Regions from separate parts of the Homo sapiens genome. Here regions 1 and 3 are each linked to region 2. Evidence: promoter capture Hi-C in 16 types of primary human blood cells and fetal thymus (Javierre and others, 2016). All regions are on one chromosome and are shown on one strand. The core of a region is centred on a gene start or on the middle of the fragment in contact, and the rest is flanking DNA. Distances in the headings are between cores, read along the strand shown. Region 1 holds the start of PRKAG3 (protein kinase AMP-activated non-catalytic subunit gamma 3). Region 2 holds the start of USP37 (ubiquitin specific peptidase 37). Region 3 overlaps PNKD (PNKD metallo-beta-lactamase domain containing).

Region 1 (2,759 bases), core at 223-2,722, 260 kb before region 2:
ACACTGGCAAACTTGTGCTTTCTGCAGTCCTTCCAGCCTTCACAGCCCTCTTCCTGCTGGTGCGGATTTGGAGGGCTGGGAATAAGGCAAGGGAAGGGGTGTCAAACCAGGCTTTGCTGATCAGGCTTATGGTTTCTTTGCCAATACAACACCCTCACAATCTTAGAAGCCTTCTGAGTGGCTCCATGTTTGAGTAACCACAGCCAATGGCCTCATGTAGACCTTATTTTTATGCTTGAACACTCTGGACTTGGTGTTCTTCCTACTCTCCTTTCTCTCAAACTGGTGGTGGCTATCTTGAGTCCATTTGAAAAAACATGCTTGGTGTGAAGGAAATTCTCTTACACTGATCTCTGTCCTCTGAGCCAGTTCCCACTGTCCAGTGAGCAGATGTCCTTGAGAAAGGCTGGGGACCACAGGAACAGCCCTGGCCAAGGCTGTCCTCCCAACTCCATTCTCCTCCACCCTCCCCATTGGCAGAGTAGGAACATTGAGGGTTGATGGAAAACACATGTAATAAACTCAGACAGAAATTCACCAGTCTGTTGTTGAGTGTCCACTCCAGGGCCAGGGCTGGGATGGAAGAGGCTGGAAGGAGGAGAGAAAGGGAGGGGCAGAGAGAGGAAAGCCGGAGCAGCTGGGTCAGCATTCCCAATCCGGACATTGACTCAGGCTCCGGGAATGCCAAGGAAGAGGGTGGCAGCTACTGGAGCCAGGCTGGGATCCTGTTGGCACCAGGGATGTAGGCACAGCACTCACAGAGGGTTGGGGGCTGGGACACCTGCACACCCAGGCATATCTCCCAACCACAGGTGGAAACAGATGTCTCTTCCCCTGCGGGGAGCTCTGAGTGCTCCCCACGCCTTCGAGGTGATTCTCACAGCTCTTCACCTGCCTGAAACACCCACTCCATCTCCTTCACCTGAGAGAGGGACACACTCCAGGGACTCAAATCTGGACATCTGGACATACACTAGCTGCTCTCCTGGACTACCCACAAACCCCTTGCCTCATCTCCAGCCTCTGAGCTGGCTGCAACTTGCCCTTTCTAACTCCAGCACCACCCTCTACTGAAATTAGAACAAGGAAGAAAGTTATGCTGATCTGCCTCCATGTTCCCTTCTTTGGTGCCTGATAAAGATGAGGGAGGCTCTTGGAATAGGGGCTCAGGACTCTGAGAGCCCAACTCTGCTCAATGACCATGTTCCCACATGCTCCAAGCCACATCCCCTCAAAAAGGGTCCCTCTAGCTTGTCCTCAGTGACCCAGGAGGCAGCTGAGGACCAAGTACCCAGATTATCCGGTGCGCCCCTTCCCTCCCAGCAACCCCCAGCCTTCAGGGCTGTAGCAGCTGAGCAAATGGGGGCCCCTCCCTCTCATTGCCTGACACCCAATCAGAGAGAAACCGATCCTGGCAGGGCAGGGTGCCCGGGGCCGGGCCCAGAATAGTGCAGCCCAGCCACAGTGTCGCACACTTGCTCTCAGTTGGTCTGGGGCTGGCCACATGGAGCCCGGGCTGGAGCACGCACTGCGCAGGGTATGGGGGTCCCAGGGGAGCCGGAGCCGGGGCAGCTGAGGCCAGAAGATTGAGCGCACGGGCTGTGAATGTGTGTGTGGGCGTGTGTGTCTTCTGGTGTGTGTTTGGTCTGGATTTTCTCGTGAATATGGGCATGTGCATGTTTGGGCATATGTATTGTGAGTGTGTGTGGTTCTGTGTGCCTGGGAGTGTTTGGATGTGTGTGTTTCTGTGTGTGTTTGTGTATGGCTGCATGTCTGTGTATGGCGTGTGTCTGAGCGTGTGTATTGGTGTGCATGGGTGTGTAGGCGTGTGTTCAGGGAGAAGGGGTTTGGGAATGTAAGGCACTTTCCCCACTCCTTCAGAAACTCTTCTCCCCACAGACCCCTTCCTGGAGCAGCCTTGGGGGTTCTGAGCATCAAGGTAGGGAGAATGCCCCCTCCCTGGGGCCTAACCTCTTCCCCCACCTCCTTGTCCCCCACTTTTCTGGGACCCCAATTCCCTCCCAGCCTGGCTTTTATCTTCCTCCTTTTGGTCTTTCTTCCTCATTGTTCTTCCTCCTTTCCCCAGGTGTGTTTCCCTCACCTCCAATTTCCTCTTTTCAGAAGTGACTTTCCCACTTACTTGCTGTGTGATTTGCAGCAAATTGCTTAACCTCTCTGAATTTCTGGTCCCTCACTAGCAAAATAGGGATGATAATAATGCCTGCTTTATAAGGCTGCTGTAAGTTTTAAATGAGAAATATGTTGGAGAAAAGCCCATTGGAAGCTTGCAAATCCTAAAGATTATGAATAACATTTGAATTGATTTTGATGCATTACTCCCTATTAACCAAACAGGCCCCATTCCCCTTCCAGAGATGAGCTTCCTAGAGCAAGAAAACAGCAGCTCATGGCCATCACCAGCTGTGACCAGCAGCTCAGAAAGAATCCGTGGGAAACGGAGGGCCAAAGCCTTGAGATGGACAAGGCAGAAGTCGGTGGAGGAAGGGGAGCCACCAGGTCAGGGGGAAGGTGAGGCCAAGGCCAGTTCTGGGGAGGTGGGAGCCAGGGGAGTGGGAAATCCCAGAGGAGCCTGGGTCTGGTCTCTACCTCAGGTCCCTCCATAACACAGAGTTGGACCCAACCTTCATCTTGTGGCCTCAGTCTCCCTACATAGTAGAGAACAAGGCACTGCAGTGCCAGAGGCCAGCATGGCCAACTCAGAAAGATGGGACAGAGCCACTACCTGGGGCGACTCTCAG
Region 2 (2,959 bases), core at 61-2,560:
TAAAACGAGATTATAAACGTGGGTTAAGTACCACATCATACAGGGCCGTGCAGGCTATGGCAAGGAGTCTAGATTTTATTTAAATGCCAAGAGAAGTAGGATTACTTCGGATAGCTGAATTACACTATCTTTCTTTTTTGTTAAAAGATCACGCGGGTAAAACGAGATGTGTCGAGGAAAAGTTTTAAATGCAGAGAACCTAAGTCAGATGCAAAAATTATGCACTTTTCCGGGCCTCAGGTTTTCCATAAATAAAGCAAGTGGTTTGAACTAGAAGCCATTTCCTTCCCGCTGCGACGTGGTGAGTTCTAAGAGCAGGGGCCGCGTCAGATTGACCATGGAATTCCCCTCATCGACGCCGGCGCCCAGAACACAACTGGCGCCCTGAAACTGTTGGTCAGCGCAATAAATCAATGAATGGCCTGCTACGGGCGTGGGACCAGGCCCCGGCGCCCGCAAAGAACGCGATGGGTCGCGCTGAAGGCCGCGAGAGGCGTCCGGCAAGGAAATAGGGGCCGGCTCCACCACAACCAAAGCGTGCCGAGGAGGGGAACCGGGGCCTTGGAGATTGAGGGCAGAAAAAAATCAGACTAGGGACCCGACACCGGGAATTAGGAGAGAAGGCCGAAACGTGGGTCTGAGAAAGGATTCTGGTTCCAAGCCTGGGGGCCCAGCCACTCACCGCAGCCGTCGCCAGGCTGTGCATGTTGTGAGCGGCCGCCGCTCTCTTCCACAGCCGGACGCGTCCGACCCGCGTCCCCCCTTCAGCACCCCTGCAGCGGAAAACAATGAGCCGCCGTAGCCGCCATCCGACTCCGGCTCGCTCCGCCCACTTCGCGGCCCTCTGACCTCTCACCCCTGACCCCACCCACACATCCTCTTCCCGCCTCCAGGGCCTAGTTAACAGTCCCAGAGTATGTCCTTTGCCCCTTAAGATTTAGGACCGGAAGGACGTCCGCGACCACTAGTCCCCGCAACTTCTGGCTTTGAGCAGTTATTTCCAGAGAGCGGCGTGAACTCTGACCCTCCTCCAAAAGCCAGTGAACGGCGGGAAAAGATGGACAGTCCCGGCAAGACAACTATTGCGCATGCCCGACTGGGTTGCGTAGGAGGGAAATGGTGGGGGGGCGTCGAAATCGGGTGAGGTGGAAAGTGCGCGTGCCTACTACAGTCACGGCAGGGGCGGGGCTGCCCGGGCTAGGCCGCTCTAGGTACTGGCGGGGCGGGGCGAGGGCGTGTGAGGGGCGGAGTTTTCGACTGACGCGCACGCGCCTGTCTGGTCGCGTCGAGTGTGCGTGCGTGCGTGCGTGTTTGCGTGTGGTCACAGTTCCCGCCATCAGCCGCTCTCCCTGACTAGGGGTAGCTAGCGGCCTCCCTCCTTTGGGTTCGGTATCCCTACTTCCATTACCCTCGGCTCCTCCCACTCCTCGCGGGCTCCGTGCTTTCCGCGGGTCTGTCCGGGGGCTCCGGACCCTCGGCGCAGGTAAGGCGGGCCGGGGTAGCTTCTCAATTGAGCCGTTTTCCCTACCTCCTCCTCCTTCTGTGCGATCCGCCCACTCGGCGTTCACTCCTCTGGAGTTCGCCCTGCTGCTACTCAGCCCGCCCACAACCCCTCGATGCACCCCCAGCCTCACAGGTACTACCTTTGGGTGCACTGCCCCGGCTTCCACCTCTCCTTTGACTTGGTCTCCACTGCCACTCGCTCCCTCCGAAACTCAAACCTGGCCCCTTTTCTCTGGGGCTGTTGTCGTTCGCCTCTTACCTTCTAACAGGGCCTGCTGTCTCTTCAGGTGACTTTCGTTACGGCACATCCACCAGGCCTTGGACATGATACTCATTCACTCTCTTGACCATCTTCACCTTCCTCTTGACCAGTCCTCACTGCAAAACATGAATTGTATTTTTGTTGTGCATTTCCTTGCGCCCATTTCTAGCCGCCAGATCAGGTTGTTAGATGTAACTATTTTAAGTCATGATCCATGAAAGGAAATGATGATTGATGATAAAATCCTGTGTCCTGAAGAGTTGTCCTAAAGTGGTTTTGGGGTATTCCTCTCAAAATTTCAGCTCTGTATAAATTCCTTTATTGAGGTGGCAATTCCTGACAAGTGTCTAACTGGAAGAGATACCTGAGAGGGAATGTCAAGTAGGCAGTTGGATATAGTGGGTTTGGAGATCTTAGGAGAGTTCTGGGCTGCGTACGTAAATGTGCGCGGTGTGTGTATGTGTTTGTCATCTGCCATATTGATAGTAATTGAAGCCATGGATGTGGATGAAATTGCCGAAAAAGAGTATAGTGCTGTAAAATAAAGGCACCTAGGATGGAGCATTGACGAATTCCTGCTGTTTAATAACCAATAGAGGAGGATGCGTCTTGCAAGCCATGAAAAAAGTCATCAGTAGTGTTGCATTCTGCTGAAAGGTAAAATGGAAGGAGGACTGAAAAACCCAGTGATATAAAAGTACTCACTTGTCTTAAAGATGTTTGATGAAGTAAAATGAGTATTTGGGTTCAGTCCTAGGTCCTCTTCTTTTACTCTTATATTCCTCCCTAAGCTTTAAATTTGATCTATATATTGATGACTTAAAAATTGTTATTTCCAGCCTATTCCCTTTGTTTTCAGCTCCACATCTAGATAGCCAGCTGTCTGCTTGACATCTCAACTTGATTTTTTTCTTAGGAGTTTCAGATGCAACACAGCCAAATCCAAAGCCTTGATCTTTCTCTCCATATCGAAATTCTTTCTTCTCCAGTGTCCCAGTTTATTAAGTGGCACATGACACAGGCTACACACTTGGGAGGCATTCTTGACTTCTACTCTCTCCAAGTTCTATCCTACTTCCAATACGTGTCTTGCATCTTTTTCTGTACATTTTCACTGTCACTTTTCTAGTTTAAGCCACAGTCCTTAAAAAACCTGGACTTGATTGCCTTGGCTTCCTGTATTATCATCTGTAA
Region 3 (2,902 bases), core at 74-2,573, 260 kb after region 2:
ATTCTCCTGCCTCAGCCTCTCTAGTAGCTGGGACTACAGGCATGCACCACCACGCCCGGCTAATTTTTTTGTATTTTTAATAAAAACAGGTTTCATCATGTTGGCCAGGCTGGTCTTGGCCACCACACCCGGCTGTGAAACCCCATTTCTACGAAAAATATGACAATTAGCTGAACGTGGTAGTGGGTGCCTGTAGTCCCAGCTACTTGGGAGGCCGTGGTGGGAGGATCTCTTATTTTATTTTATTTTTATTTAAATAGAGACAGGGTCTCACTATGTTGCCCAGGCTGATCTTGAATGATCTCTTGATCCTGGAGGTCAAGATTGCAGTGAGACATGACTGCGCCACTGTACTCTGTCTCAGAAAGAGGAAGGAAGGAAGGAAGGAGAAAGAGAGAAAGAGAGAGAGAAAGAGAGAAAAAGAGAAAGGAAGGAAAGAAGTGGAGGAGGCTGGGCACGGTGGCTCACTCCTGTAATCCCAGCACTTTGGGAGGTTGAGGCAGGCAGATCCCCTCAGGTCAGGAGTTTGAGACCAGCCTGGCCAACATGGTGAAACCCTGTCTACTAAAAATACAAAAATTAGCTGAGGGGTGGTGGCAGCTCCTGTAATCCCAGCTACTCAGGTGGCTGAGGCAGGAGAATCGCTTGAACCCGGGAGGTGGAGGTTGCGGTGAGCCGAGATTATGCTATTGCACTCCAGCCTGGGTGATAGAGCAATACTCGTCTAAAAAAAAAAAAGAAAGAAAGAAAGTAGTGGAGAAAAAAATAGGACACAAAACTGGGTAAATTTTGAATAACTGATACGATTGTACCTCTGTAAACAAAAATGGATTAAAAAAAATCTAAGGCTGGGCACGGTGGCTCGTGCCTGTAATCCCAGCACTTTGGGAGGCTGAGGCGGGCAGATCACAAGCTTAGGAGTTTGAGAACAGCCTGGCCAATATGGTGAAACCCCGTCTCTACTAAAAATACAAAAATTAGTTGGGTGTAGTGGCGGGTGCCTGAATCATCCCAGCTACTCAGGAGGCTGAGGCAGGAAAACCACTTGAATCTGAGAGGCAGAGGTTACAGTGAGCCGAGATGGCACCACTGCACATCTGAGTGATGTGCAGTGAGACTCTGTCTCAAAAAAAAAAAAAAAAAATCTAAAATGCTTCCAGTCATAATCTTTGGTTGATTGACTCATGGGGTACCATTTGTTTATTATTTTTTTGTGCTTTTAAAATATTTTCTGATCTTCTATAATGAAAACATATTAGTATTTTAATTTTTAAAATTATTATTTTATTAAAACAAAGAAAGTAGTCCTCTCTGCTGTCTCTACCTTTCACTTCACGTCCATTCTCAGGCCACTCAACTGGGCCCCTGCCTGTACTGCTCCATCCTAATTTGGCGCTGTCCCCTTGAAGGTCAAACCCATTTGTCATTGTTCAGCCCTTATCACTGAACCTCTGGGTGGCAGCTATGACAATGGAGCATGCCTTTTTCCTCTGCCTTCCCTGCCACAGTCTCTCTGGCTCTCCTCTCCCCTCTCTGACAAGCTCCCCTTCTGCTAGCTCTAAATTCACCACTTACAGGCTACCACCTGTATACTCATTACTTCAAAGGAGAAATGTCCACAAGAGCCTCCCTTGGATGCCCCACGGTAGGGGTCCCCAACCGCTTCCCTCCAACCCTATACTGGTCCTTGGTCTGTTAGGAGCCAGGCCACACAGCAGGACAGGCAAAGCTTTACCTGTATTTACAGCTGCTCCACATTGCTTGCATTACCCTCTGAGCTCCACCTCCTGTCAGATCAGCAGCAGCATTAGATTCTCATAGGAGCTCGCACCCTATTGTGAACTGCGCATGTGAGGGATGTAGGTTACATGCTCCTTATGAGAATCTAATGCCTGATGATCTGTCACTGTCTCCCATCAATCCCAGATGGGACCATCCAGCTGCTGGAAAACAAGCTCAGGGTTCCCATTGATTGTACCTTATGGTGAGTTGTATGATTATTTTATTATATATTACAATGTAATAATAATAGAAATCTAGTGCACAATAAATGTAATGCGCTTGAATCATCCCGAACCCCCCTAACCCCATTGCCTCCCCCAGTCCCTGGAAAAACTGCCTTCCATGAAACTGGTCCCTGGTGCCAAAAATGCTGGGGACTGCTGCCACACGGGATCTTTAACTTGATTTGTCCAAAGCTACCTCCTCATCCTCATGTGACCCCAACCCTCTCCTTCAGGTCTGCCAACTTGGCCAACGGCATCATCTGTGTTTCCAGATGATTTTGCCCAACTGTAAACGAATGTCATTGTTTTGTGCATGTTTAAGGCAGGCTAGGCTAGGCTATGATGTTTGGTAGGTTTAGGTGTATTTAATGCATTTTCCACTTAGGATATTTTCAATTTAGGATGAGTTTATTGGGATGTAACCACTCTATAAGTTAGGAAGCATCTGTGTTTGTCAGATGACCAAACAAACCAATCCCGACACCTAGCTCCTGGGTGAGGGCATCTCTTAGGCCTAGGTAATGACTTGCACACTTCATTGCACACATGTCTCTGTGATGGTCCTTAGGCTGTGCAGTAATTCCTGGCGCTGCCCCATAACACTTCAAGTGCCTTGTGGGTAAGGAGGGTGAACTGTCGGGGAGGGAGTGGAATCGGGTTTGGGGGTTGTGTGCTAGACTTGGAATGACCAGCTTAGAACCCTGGCTCCACTAGGAACTCTGCACCTTGGGGCAATGTTCTTAATCTACTCAAACCTCATTCTCTTTCTCTCCACGAGGGACTGGTAATTTGCATGGAGCTACTCGGAGGATTAACCGTGATTACCCAGAGAAAGGACACCTTGCCTGGGCCGTTTCAAGTACTCCACACATGTTCCTTGATATTATTGATCTCAT

What was found. Contacts are between HindIII fragments. The CHiCAGO score rates a contact against its expected background, and 5 or more counts as called.
Region 1: a contact is called between the fragment with the promoter of PRKAG3 here and the fragment with the promoter of USP37 in region 2, in 1 of 17 cell types (M0 macrophages). The highest score is 5.1, in M0 macrophages.
Region 3: a contact is called between a fragment that was not itself captured here and the fragment with the promoter of USP37 in region 2, in 5 of 17 cell types (fetal thymus, total B cells, total CD8 T cells and 2 more). The highest score is 6.2, in fetal thymus.

The regions. Positions count from the first base shown.
Region 1 is chr2:218,830,516-218,833,274 of GRCh38, reverse strand. It overlaps PRKAG3 (protein kinase AMP-activated non-catalytic subunit gamma 3), which reads left to right and starts at 1,472. Exons shown (of 14, transcript NM_017431.4): 1 at 1,472-1,537; 2 at 1,900-1,939; 3 at 2,374-2,529. The coding sequence starts at 1,505. The HindIII fragment of the contact is 3,600 bases long and covers 1-2,286 here.
Region 2 is chr2:218,566,702-218,569,660 of GRCh38, reverse strand. It overlaps USP37 (ubiquitin specific peptidase 37), which reads left to right and starts at 1,310. Exons shown (of 26, transcript NM_020935.3): 1 at 1,310-1,483. It overlaps CNOT9 (CCR4-NOT transcription complex subunit 9), which reads right to left and starts at 822. Exons shown (of 8, transcript NM_005444.3): 1 at 683-822. The coding sequence starts at 706. RefSeq lists enhancers at 228-417, 212-839, 840-1,467 and silencers at 1,128-1,187, 1,278-1,347. The HindIII fragment of the contact is 2,574 bases long and covers 1-2,558 here.
Region 3 is chr2:218,306,431-218,309,332 of GRCh38, reverse strand. All of the region lies in intron 2 of PNKD (PNKD metallo-beta-lactamase domain containing), which reads right to left. It overlaps LOC105373881 (a long non-coding RNA gene), which reads left to right. Exons shown (of 3, transcript XR_923914.3): 3 at 2,785-2,902. Among named protein-coding and RNA genes, the nearest start is that of TMBIM1, 15 kb to the right of the region's middle. The HindIII fragment of the contact is 816 bases long and covers 916-1,731 here.